2 separate regions of the Homo sapiens genome follow, and region 1 is linked to region 2. The links are contacts of gene promoters, found by promoter capture Hi-C in human tissues and cell types (Jung and others, 2019). All regions are on one chromosome and are shown on one strand. Each heading gives the region's core, a stretch centred on a gene start or on the middle of the fragment in contact. The rest is flanking DNA. Distances are from core to core; before and after follow the strand shown.

Region 1 (6,158 bases), core at 1,998-4,497, 460 kb before region 2:
AGGTCTCACTCTGTCACCCAGGCTGGAGTCAAATGGTGCCATCACAGCTTACTGCAGCCTTGACCTCCTGGGCTTAAGCGATCCTCCCACCTCAGCTTCCCAAGTAGCTGGGACCACAGGCACGCACCACCACACCTGGCTAATGTCTTTACTTTTTGTAGAGATGGGGTTTCACCATGTTGCCCAGGTTGGTCTCAAACTCCTGAGCTCAAGTGATCCACCCACCTTGGCCTCCCAAAGTGTTGAAATTACAGGCATTTGCCACCGCACCCAGCCTGGAGGCAATTCTTGAATTGACATGCAGCTGGAAGAAATAATGAGAAGATTCTGTATACCCCTCACCCAGTTTTCTCCATGGTAACAATTTGCAGAACTACAGTCCAATATCAACCAAAAACTGACATTGATTCATTCAATCAATCTTATTCAGATTTCACAAGTTTCACATGCATTAGTTGTGTATATTTAGTTCTATAAATTTTGCCACAGGTATAGATTTTTGTGAAAATCACAACACTGGGGATACAGAACAGTCCCATCACCAGGATCCCACACATGGTAACTACAGCCATCTCCCACCCTCTCTGCCTTCCTAACGCTGGCAACCACGAATCTGTTCTCCATCTCTATGCTGTCATTTCAAAACTGTTACACAAATAACAGATCATGAGGTATTATGATAAACAGCCTAACTGCATTTGTGATAATTGGCTAATAGATTTCAAATCCCACCCATCTCCCCTCTTACCCTACATTTGGGCAAGCCAATAATAAAGCCTAGGTGGTCCCTCCCTCAATGCCAGTAGGAAACTGAAACCACACAAACTCCATCCTTTTTGTGTGTGCTCACCCTACCCCAAATTCCTAATGACAAGCAGCCATTCTTCTCCCTTCTTTCTCAATCCACATTTAGACCTGCTTAGGAGCCTTCTCTGGTCTCCCTAGAAACCTGTGTGTATAAGTAATAAACTCTTTTTTACACTCTTGATATCATTACCAGTTTTGATACCTAAACCAAGCGTAGGGGGCAGGAGGGTTCATCCCAACTCTATGGGGTGGACCAGAACAAACATGTAAATTTTTGAGATTGGGTTTTTTAAAACTCAGCTTAATCTCTTGAGATTCATCCATAATGTTACATGTATTAGTCATTCATTCCATTTTAATACTGGGTAACACTTCATGGTATGGACACACTACACATTATTTATCCATTCAAGAACATCTGGATTATTCGGGTTTGGGCTATGACCCATAAAACTGCTATAAAATTTTTTTGATGGAACATTAAGTTTTTATTTCTCAAGGATAAATGTCTAACAGTGTAACTAGTGGTTCACATGCTAAGTTTGTTTTTAGTTTTAAATGGAACTGACAAACTATTTTCTAGAATGACTGTAGCATTTTACTTACCATCAAAAATGTATGAATAATTCAGTTTCTCTAAATCTTCACCAGCACTTGTATTATCACTTTTATAAGGCAGGTCAAATAAGAGCATGATAAAAACATCTTTCATTATGACGTGTCTGGGTATAAGTCTCTTTGCATTTATCCTCCTATGAGTTTGCTGAGCTTCTTGGATGAATATATTAGTTTTCTTCAACAAATTATGGGCGTTTCTGCGAATTCTTCAAAAAATTTTTCTTTCCCTTTCTATTCTCTCATATTGATACTCCCGTTTGTGTATGCTGGTGCACCTAATGATATCCGTTTCCCAAGGTTTTGTTCATTTTTCATTATTTTACTGGCTCTTCCTCAAATTACACAATATACATTGATCTGCACCAGACAACCCAGTTTCTGCCAACTAAAATGGCAGTTATTATTGTGTTGCCTATTGATAGTCCTGTGCATGGGTCACATTTTTCCTGTTTCTTTGCATATCTCATTTTGTTGTTGTTCTCGAATGGACAACTGGTCCATTCACTTAACAGTGTTGAGTGACATAATCAAATGGTGGAGTACACAGCTCCCAACTGTCCCCACACAGAAACACCAAAAAAAAAAAAAGAACTATAAAAACCAACCTTGTTAGAACTCTGGAAAATAATTAAAGGTTTACAGTAACCAAGTGAATGCTAAATCAGGAAAAAGGCGACTTCAAATGGTGGGAAAGTTTTGTGGCATTTTTACTTTACAAGAGACCCTCATTAATATCAGGAGCTCATATCTCCGCAGAAATCAATTGAAGGCCTGAAGACAGATGGATGACATATATAAATTCCTGAAAGAAAAACACTATCATCTGAGAATTCTCTAGCTGGTAAAACTGTCCTTCAAAATGAAAGAGAAATGAAGATAATCCCAGATAAACAAATGCTGAGTTTGTTACTACTAGGCCTGCTATACAGGGAACACTAAAAGGTGTCTTTCAAGATGAAATAAAAAGAAACTAGACTCAAATCTGGAGGAAAAAATAAAGACTTCCAATAAAGTTAACTATATAGACAAATATAAAAGCCAGGGTCATTATGTTTGCTTTGTAACTCCATTTTTTTACTTCCTGCAGGACTTAAAAGACAAATGGATAAGAACTAAATATAAATTTACATTATGGGCACACAATGTATAAAGACATAATCTGTGACAACATAAAGGGGATGAGTAAGGTGCTAGGTAGAAGCAAGGTTTTCATATGATATTGAAGTTATGAGGGAATCAATTTAAACTAGATTGTCATGAATTTAGAAAGTGAAAGTAATCCTCATGTTTAATTACAAAGACAATATCTTAAAAATGTACACAGAAGGAAATGAGAAGGGAATAATATATAATATAAAATAATAAAAATATAAAAATCAGGCCAGGTGTGGTCGGCTCATGCCTGTAATCTCAAGCACTTTGGGAGGCCGAAATGGGTGGATCACTTGAAGCCAGGAGTTCAAGACGAGCCTGGCCAACATGGCAAAACACCATCTCTACTAAAGACACAAAAATTAGCTGGGTGTGGTGGCACGTGCCTGTAGTCCCAGCTACTTGGGAGGCTGCGGCATGAGAATTGCTTGAACCCAGGAGGAGGAGGTTGCAGTGAACCAAGATCATACCACTACACTCTGGCCTGGGCAACAGAGCAAGACTTTGGTCTTGAAAAAAAAAAAAAAAAATGAAACACAAAGAAGGCAGTAATAAAGGGAATATGGGACCAAAGAAGGTATACAATATACAGAAAACAAAATGCAATATGGCAGAAGTGTTTCCTTGTTGGTGATTACTTTAAATGATAATTGCTTGAACTCACCAATCAGAAGACAGAGGCTGGCAGAATGGATTTGATTGATTTATTTATTTTTTAGACAGGGTCTTGCTCTGTCACCCAGGCTGGAGTGCAGTGACACAAACAGGACTCAATGCACCCTTGACTTCCTGGGCTCAAGGGATCCTCCTGCCTCAGCCTCCCAAGTAGCTGGAACCACAGCGCACACCACCACACCCAACTATTTTTTTTTTTTTAATTTTTTTTGTAGAAACGGAGTCTCACTTTGTAGACCAGGCTGGTCTCCAAGGCCTGGGCTCAAGAGATCCTCCCAAAGTGCTGGGATTACAGGTGTCAACCACCCAGCTTCAGAATAGATTTTTTTAAAATATGATCAAACTACACATTGTCTAAAACAAACTGACTTAAAATCCAAAGACACAAATAAATTAAAACTGAAAGGCTGATAAAAGATATTCCATGAAAATAGCCACCAAAAGAGAACTGGGGTGGCTATACTAATTTCACTCAAAATAGATTAAGTCATAAGCTGTTACAAGAGACAAAGAAGGATACTATATATGAATAAAGGGTCGTTCCATCAATAAGATATAAAAATTATAACTATATATGTACCAAGCAGCATCCTGAAACATGTAAAGCAAACACAGAATGCAAGGGAGAAACTGACAGTTCTTACAGTTAATAGTTTTAGACTGAGGCTGGGCATGGTAGATAGCACCTGTAATCCCAGAGGTTTGGGAAGCCAAGGTGGATCACTTGATGCCAGGAGTCCAAGACCAGCATGAGCAACATAGTGAGACCCTGTTTCCACCAAAAAAAAAAAAAAAAAAGATAGCTGGGCATAGTGGGCATGGTGGTATACAGCTATAGCCCCCTCAGGAGGATGAGTGGGGAGGATCACTTGAGCCTGGGAGTTCGAGGCTACAGTGAGCCATAATTGTGCCACTGCACTCCAGTCTGGGCAACAGAGTGAGACTCTTTTAAAAAAAAAATACAAATGCAAATGAATAAATGAATGAATGAATGATGCGTATGAATACAGATACAAAGCTACACAAACACATACACACACACACAAATACCAGTAAAATATATTTAATGGTATATTAAGAGGAGTATACACCATGACCAAGTGACCAAGGGGGACTTATCCTGGAAATGCCTGTGTGGTTCAACATAAGAAAATCAATGTTTTTAAAAAAAAAAAGAAAAGAAAATGAATGTAATACACTTCATTAATAAAACAAGTAAAAAAAGGACACGATCATCTCAGTTGATGCAGTAAAGGCAGTTGACAAAATCCAACCCCTTTCAGGACAAATACATTCAGAAAACACAAAACAGAATAGAACTTCTTCAACATGATAAAGGGCACATATAGAAAATTCACAGCTTTACATCATATTCACTGATGAAAGAAAGCTTTCCTCTTAACATCAGGAAGAAGACAAAAATACCCACTTTTGCCAGTGCTATTTAACACTGCAGTAGAAGTTCCAGCCAAACAAGAAAAAGAAAGAGAGGCATCCATTGCAAAGGAAGACATAAAACTATGCCTACTCACAGGTGACATAATCCTAAAGATAGATCATAAAGAAACTACAAGAAAGATACTATAGCTAATGAATGAATTCTGCAAAGTTGCAGGATACATCAACACACAAAAATCCGTTGTGTTGCTACACACCTGCAAAGAACAATCTGAAAAGAAAATTAAGAAAACAATTCTACCTATAGCACCATCTAAAAGAATAAAATACTATCTAGAAATAAAGTTAACCAAGAAGGTGCAAGACTTGTATACTAAAAACTACAAAATACTGATGAAAAATATTAAAGAAGGCATAAATAAAGGAAACAGTATCTCATGTTCACAGTTTGAGAGATGTCATATTTTTAAAAGGCTAATACCATCCAAAATGATCTACAGATTTAACACAATCCCTATCAAAATTCCATCAGCATTTTTACCAAAATAAAAAGCTGATCCTTAAAGTCACGTGGAATTATAAGGGCCCTGAATAGCGAAAACAATTTTTAAAAAGAAGAACAAAGTCAGAGGACTCAAAACGTCCAATTTCACAACTTATTAGAAAGCTACAATAATCCAAACAGTGGGTCATGTCATAGGTGTAGACATACAGACAAACGGAATACAAGTGAGAGCCCAAAAATACACTGCCTATGGTCAACTGATTTTTGACAAGGGCGTCAATTCTATTCACTGGGAGAAAGAAAAGCCTTTTCTTTCAGTTAATGCAGGCCAAATATTGTCACGCTACTGACATGAGATACAACAGTCATACTCACAGACAAAATAGATTAGAGGTTACCACAGGCTGGTGGGAATGGGAATGAGTAGTTACTGCTTAATGGTGATAGAGTTTCTGTTTGAAATGATGACAAATGACCAAAAAAATGATGCTGGGTTAACTGGATTTCCACATGAAAATAAAGTTAGAAAATAAAGTTAGATCCCTACTTTGACTATACACAAAAATGAACTGAAAATAAGAGCTAAAACAATAAAATGTTTAGAAGAAATGTTCAGAAGAAAACATAAGGAAAACTTTGGGTTTGGTGATGGATTCTTAACTATGACATAAAATGGATAAGCAACAAAAGAAAGAGTAGGTACGGCCGGGTGCGGTGGCTCACGCCTGTAATCCCAGCACTTTGGGAGGTCAAGGTGGGTGATCACCTGAGGTCAGGAGTTCAAGACAAGCCTGGCCAACATGGTGAAACCCCGTCTCTACTAAAGCCACAAAAATTAGCTGGGCACTGTGGCATGCGCCTGTAGTCCCAGCTACTCGGGAAGCTGAGGCAGGAGAATCACTTGAACACAGGAGGCAGAGGCTGTGGTGAGCCGAGATCGTGCCACTGCACTCTGGCCTGGGTGACGGTGAGACTCTGTCTCAAAAACAAATATCTGTGTATA
Region 2 (5,991 bases), core at 1,579-4,078:
GAGTAATGTATGCAATGTCACACAACTATGAATGGCAAAATTCAAACTCAGGTCTAATCACTCCAAGCAGATGCCTGCACCAGAACCTCTTGGGGAATTTTTTTTTTTTTCTTAGAGATAGCGTCTCACTGTGCTGCCCAGGCTGGTCTCGAACTCCTGGCCTCAAGTGATCTTCTTGCCTTGGCCTCCCAAAGTACTGGGATTACAGGTGTGAGCCCTTAGCCTGGCCCCTGAACTTTTTTTTTAACATGGATTTTTAGGGAGTGGGGGACCCAGGATGTGTGTCTTCATAAAAGCTGCCCTGAAGATTCTCCAAGGGGACCTGCGGGCAGGGACAGGAAGCACTGACCACACTGTGATGTGCCCTCCTCCAGCTCCCAGAGAGCCCGCGACCCTCAGCAGGGCAGTGTGGCCAGGGTGCCCGAGCCCAGGCCCAGGAAGGCCCAATGGCTACAACTTATTAAGGGCTTCCTGTTTGTCGGGCACTGGGCTCTACCCTCACATGCACCCCTCTTTCTAGTTTCACCCCTTCTTCTGAAAGGGAGATGTTTATAGCTGGGGAAACTGAGGCTCAGAGAGATGACTAAGGGGAGTCAAGAAAGAGAGGCAGAGCCCCCTGCAGGCCCTCCCCACCCCATGGACTGAGAGAAGCCAGGGCCAGGACTCCTGGGCAGCCAAAGACCGGCACGTCTGCTTTGCACTTCACCTGGCCCCCACCTCCCCTTGTGAGACCTCAGGGGGTGGCCTCGCTTCCCCTCTGCTGGGCAAGGAGCTCCTTCCTGCTGCCTGATGTTCTGGATACTGAGCCTACACCCAGGCAGGGCTGAATCTCCTTTCCCCGCAGTCCCTGAGGCCAGCAGGCTCTGGGCCTCACAACTGTCCTCTGCTGAGCGACCCTTTGGTCAGATCCCTGGGCGTGCACGTAGCAGGGAGGTATGCATCTGTGTGCGTGTGTGTCCACGTATGGGAACACAGGTGTATGCATGTATGCATGTGTACAGGGTACACCCATGTGAGGGCCCCCCAGACCTTTTTCCAAGGAGTAAATGACACCCTCTCATAGTGTCAGGTGTTCACTCAGGACCCCCAAGGGTGAGGGTGGAGCGAGAGCGTGGAAAGGCCTAAGGTAGGCTAGGCAGGAGCACAGCCCCAGATGGCCCCTTAAGATGGCCACACAGAGCCCAGCCAGACATCAATGTCAGCCAAGGGCTGGCCAGGGTGGTCCCCGGGAGGTGCAGGGGTGGGGCTATTTAAGCCTACCCACTTCTCTCTTCATTCACCTAGGAGGCAATCACAGGAGCTTGTCTGTAGCCAAAAGATGCCCCCAGCCCCTCCCTACCTATCAGGTCCCTTCCCTGGGCACAGGCCTGAGTGTGTAGCCTAGGTAGCCACTGGCACCAGAGATGGAACCTGTCTGAACCCAAGGGAGCCCCTTGTGGCCAACTCTAGCTCCATAAACTGGAAGGGTGTGGCAGGCAGCCGGAGTCCAGTGGCCCACAGTGTCTCTCCTGGGCTGGCAGGCCTGTGCCCCGGCCACCTGCCCCTCAGCAAGCCAGGTCTGGACATCACGGTTGGCTGAGTGCAAGCCAGCCTCTGTCTTGGCAGCTCCCCCTCCTGCCTGTGAGGGTGACTTCACTTTGACTTCATATCTGCAGTGATGTGCAGATCACTTATTCAGCCCTGAGCTCAGCCAGGCAAGAGGGCGGGGTTCTGCACACAGCAAGCAAGGGAGCGGCTGGCTCAAGGGTGCCCTGGGCCCAGGTTCCCTGGCTTTTCCTCCTCAAGGGCCCATGGGCTTCCCTTCTTCCATCCCTCTGCGCCTAAGTGCAGGCCAGACCTCAAAAAGCAGCCGGGGATGGGGCGAGAACAGAGGACTTCCCCACTGAGCCCACATCCAACCTCACCCAGAACCCCTTCTCAGGTCCAGTTGCTGCTCCCTATTAGGGGTAAATGTGTTTATGCGCATCATTTCCATCATTTCTTTGGGGGAAAATTGGATTCTTTCCTCCTCCTCGCTACTCGCTCTCCGACTCTGCCAGCCCATCTCCTGAGAGTTCTCCTGTGTAAGGGATGCAAGGGCCACCAGCACCAGGTCTCTGAAAGGACGCCGGAGCCAGTTTCCGGTTTCCAAGGGTTGGACCAGTGCTGGAGGGGGGAATCACAAACTGCCCTTCCAGGACCCTACCCTCTCTACTACCCCAGGATGCTGAAAAAGGCTATTCTGCCTCTCTTCCCCTGCTCAGCTCTTCCCCGCCTCCTGCCTCCGGCCCCAGCAGAGGCCGCGCTCCCACTGCGCCTCTCGCCTCTGAGAAATGGCGCAGCAAGCGCTCCGCGGAGAGCCTGGAGGCGGGGCGCCCTTCTCTGAGTCCGCGGGGTCGCACCCCGAGCCAGTCGGCCAGACCTGCATCCCGCGTAGCATCCCTGCCCTCTCTGTGCAGCGGAAAGGGCAAAAGGCAGGGACTGCAAGCGGGCGCGCACCGGGTAGGAAGAGCGGCTCTGCGTAGGTGCGCGGACCCGGGCTCCTGGGTTCCATCCCCGCCGCGCACCTCGGGGTCCGCACCCGGCTCCTGCCGGGCCCTTTTCGGCCGCACCCCGCTCCCGCACCCCGCTCCTCCCCAAGCCCCACCCGGCCCAAGCCGCGCGTCCCGCACTGAGCTCCTACACGCGCCGCGCCCCGGCCGCACCCCGCGCAGCCAGAGCAAGCACTGGAGCCCCGCCCCTTCCCGCACCCCACCCGCCTCCGGCCCCGCCTGGCCCACCCCTGGACCGCCCCCGCCCCGCCCCGCCCCTACCCGCTCCTCCGGCGCAGCCGGCGCTTACCTCGCTTCAGTCCCGCGACCGAAGCAGGGCGCGCAGCAGCGCTGAGTGCCCCGGAACGTGCGTCGCGCCCCCAGTGTCCGTCGCGTCCGCCGCGCCCCGGGCGGGGATGGGGCGGCCAGACTGAGCGCCGCACCCGCCATCCAGACCCGCCGGCCCTAGCCGCAGTCCCTCCAGCCGTGGCCCCAGCGCGCACGGGCGATGGCGAAGGCGACGTCCGGTGCCGCGGGGCTGCGTCTGCTGTTGCTGCTGCTGCTGCCGCTGCTAGGCAAAGGTGAGTTCTGCCGGCCGCCGGCTCCCGCAGGGGCCAGGGCGAAGTTGGCGCCGAGCAGCGGAGCGGGCGCGTTCAGAAGCGCCTTTCTGTTTGCCGTGGGCAGCGGGCTGTGCGGTCGCCGGCCACCCGGCCTCGGCTGGGAGCGCAGTGGCTGCGGCGGGCGGCGGGCGAAGGGCAGGACGCCTCGGGCCGGGCGCCTCGGGCCGGGGCTGGGCGGGTCTCGGGCGGGAGCGGAGCGCGGGCCGGGCCGCGGGGGTCGGTGCTCAGAACCCTAGCCATAGCCGCAGGTCTCAATCTGGCCGCGCCCTGCGCCAAAGCCGCGTCCTGGAGCAAACGGGACAGCCGTTTCGGGGCCGACCTGGCGGACGGGTCAGGGAGCCCCGAAAGCCCGCGATTCGTGCGGAGAGTTCTGTTTCGGCAGGAGACGGCTCCGTCCTGGTTTCCTTTTCCCGCTCAGCGTCCGTGCGTTCCTCCCCCAGCTCTGCCGTCCTGGCCAGCCGAGGGATTCGGAGGCTCTTTTGAAAAGATTGCTTTTCCCTCGTGCGTTTTTGCCGCCCTGTCTTTAAACACCTAAAAACCGTGGTTTCTGGGGTGGCTCCCCCCGAGGGGCCGCCGTGATAGGCGTCCCACCCGGCAGCCCTGGAGTCGTGTGGCGCTGCCTGGCAGAGATGCTGAAGATGCGGCCATAGGAGGCCCAGGGCTTGGGGTGGGGCAGGGGTTTGCGCCGCCAGCCAGCGTTGGTGCTGGGCCTGGTGAAACCTCAGGTGCCTTAGGATCCCAGCATTAGGTGTGGCCTTGCAAAGATGGTCATCGACCCCACCCAAACTCTGGCAGAGTGAGCCGCAAGGCTGTGGAATCTTTGACCCCTTGGCACGCGTTTAAGTGTCCCTCAAACTGGCCCTGACTTGATCCCCTCCAAGCGCTTGTGTATGAACCAAGTTTCCCTCTAAGAGGGAAGGAGCCCTGGCCATCCTCCCTCACTCCTTACAAAGGGCTTTCTCTCCCCACAGCCTTTGGGAACAGAAGAAGCCATGGTCAGTCACCCTGTCTCTGGCCCCAGGCCCTGCACAAACTGAGTTTCCAGGCCTGCCTGAGACTTCATTTGTGTGACCTGCGCCTCAGCTCAGCATATGCTGAGGCCAGAGCGGGTCCCCAGTCCACCTAGCGAGGGACAGGGGAGAAGCCCTTGCCTTTCTATCTTTTCTGAGTGTTAGGACTTTGGGGTCCCAGTGCTGCAGGGGGAAGACACGGGGCAGAAGCAAACAAGGCGCTCTGACGCTGTCTTGGGATTCTGGGCTGTGGCTTTGGCTTTGAGGTTGTGGGCAGGGGGCCAGGTGTGAACTGCTGCTGGTGTGCTGGGCAGAGGACTTCCCCACACCCTTCCACAGCCTTGCGTTCAGTTGGGGTGGCCAGTGAGGCTGTGGGGGCCAGGCTCTGGGGGCCGGCTTGTGGCACTCAGCAGGCATGCAGGTAGCTTTCCGTGCCCAGACCCCTGGCCCACAGACAGCTTCCCGAATCCAGAGATGGTGAGCCCCTAGCCCCTGGGATAACCCGGACACCACAGTTGGAGGCACTGGGAGTGAAGAGGCAGCCCCACTCCCTGGAGTAGACAGCTGGGGCCTTTGAAGAGGCTGCAGAGCTCTTTCCCAGGAGCCACAGCTCCGGAGGTTCGAGCCGCACTCTTGGAGCTGCCAAGGACCGCCCCAGTGAGCCCCTCGGTGCTCCCCAACCACCCCAAGGGGACAGCTCGGCCTCAAGCGCCCTCTTGCGGACGCTGCACTTTAGTGGCTGGGCCTGATGACAGGCACAGACTGGGTCTCTAGAGGATGAGGGTTCTTCCACAGCTCACACATGCACACTCACACTGGATCACCAAGACACACTCCTGCCCCTTCTCACAGCACTTGCTGCCAAGGCTGTGGACATGCACAGCGTGGTTCCTTCACACCCTGCCTCACCCACGTCCACACAGGGACCCCAGCCCCTCTCATCACTCATACACACAGGGACGCCACGTGTGTATATAGGGACACACACTCCTCATACCTGCAGGGCATAGCCTGTCAGCCCCAGGTATGCTGGAACCAGAGTGAGAGAACCTCCATCTAAAAGTTACATTCATTTAAAAGTTGCTCTTAAAGGTTTCTGGCATTTCATTGCTCAACACAGATACAGCTGTCCCCGTTGCTTGGATGAGGAAACTGAGTCTCAGCTTCTGGGGTTCCCCCCAGGTCCCAGGCTGACCCTGCACCTCAACCTCCCACAGCTCCTCAGCAAGCCTCTTGTCTCTTGTCTTCCTGGCCTGACTTCTTGGGTCCTGTTTTGCAGCAAGGAAGGACATTCCCTCTCTGCCCCTGGGCCCCGGGGCCTTCTGTTCCCAGCATGGAAGAGCTGGGCACTGTGACTTGGCAGGGCCCGGATCCAAGCTGCCAGACCACCCTCTGCAGAGGGCCTAGGCAGCCCACCCCTGCCTGAAGCACCAGGTATCAGCGCGGGCAGCTCAGGCCAGGGGTACAGCTCCCCCTGCTTCATCCTTTTCCTTCTCCCCTTTCTCTGGCCAGAGGCTTCACCAGGTTCACCTGGGCCTGGCTTGCTTCCTCCTCCACTCCAGCTCACTAACCCTGTCTGGCCTCCAGAAGCTGCCTGCAGCCCTCACTGGTGGGCTGTGCCTGCTGGGGGCCTGCAAGCAGAGAGCAAATGGGGAAGTGCATTGAGCTGATTCACTAAATTGCCTTTCTTCTGCAGAATCACTTTAGGGACAGGCTGAGGAAATCACTGTTTCCTTGGTGGTGTGAAGAAAATGGGATGCGATCACCTAGCGGGGAGCTAATAGCCTTTTAGCCAGTGGAGGAGAAAACCAATTAAAAATTATGATATCTGTTAAAATGGAACCTGGGGTG

Evidence for each region. The method cuts DNA at HindIII sites, captures the fragments that hold promoters and counts their contacts. A contact is called where the count stands out against the background at its distance.
Region 1: a fragment that was not itself captured here is called in contact with the fragment with the promoter of RET in region 2 in 1 of the 25 tissues and cell types used here (aorta).

The regions. Positions count from the first base shown.
Region 1 is chr10:42,617,128-42,623,285 of GRCh38, forward strand. All of the region lies in intron 4 of ZNF33B (zinc finger protein 33B), which reads right to left. Among named protein-coding and RNA genes, the nearest start is that of ZNF33B, 18 kb to the right of the region's middle. The HindIII fragment of the contact is 6,117 bases long and covers 190-6,158 here.
Region 2 is chr10:43,074,241-43,080,231 of GRCh38, forward strand. RET (ret proto-oncogene) reads left to right here and starts at 2,829. Exons shown (of 20, transcript NM_020975.6): 1 at 2,829-3,091. The coding sequence starts at 3,019. RefSeq lists enhancers at 1,886-2,152, 2,018-2,875, 3,184-4,174 and promoters at 2,368-3,051, 2,753-3,051. The HindIII fragment of the contact is 24,069 bases long and covers 1-5,991 here.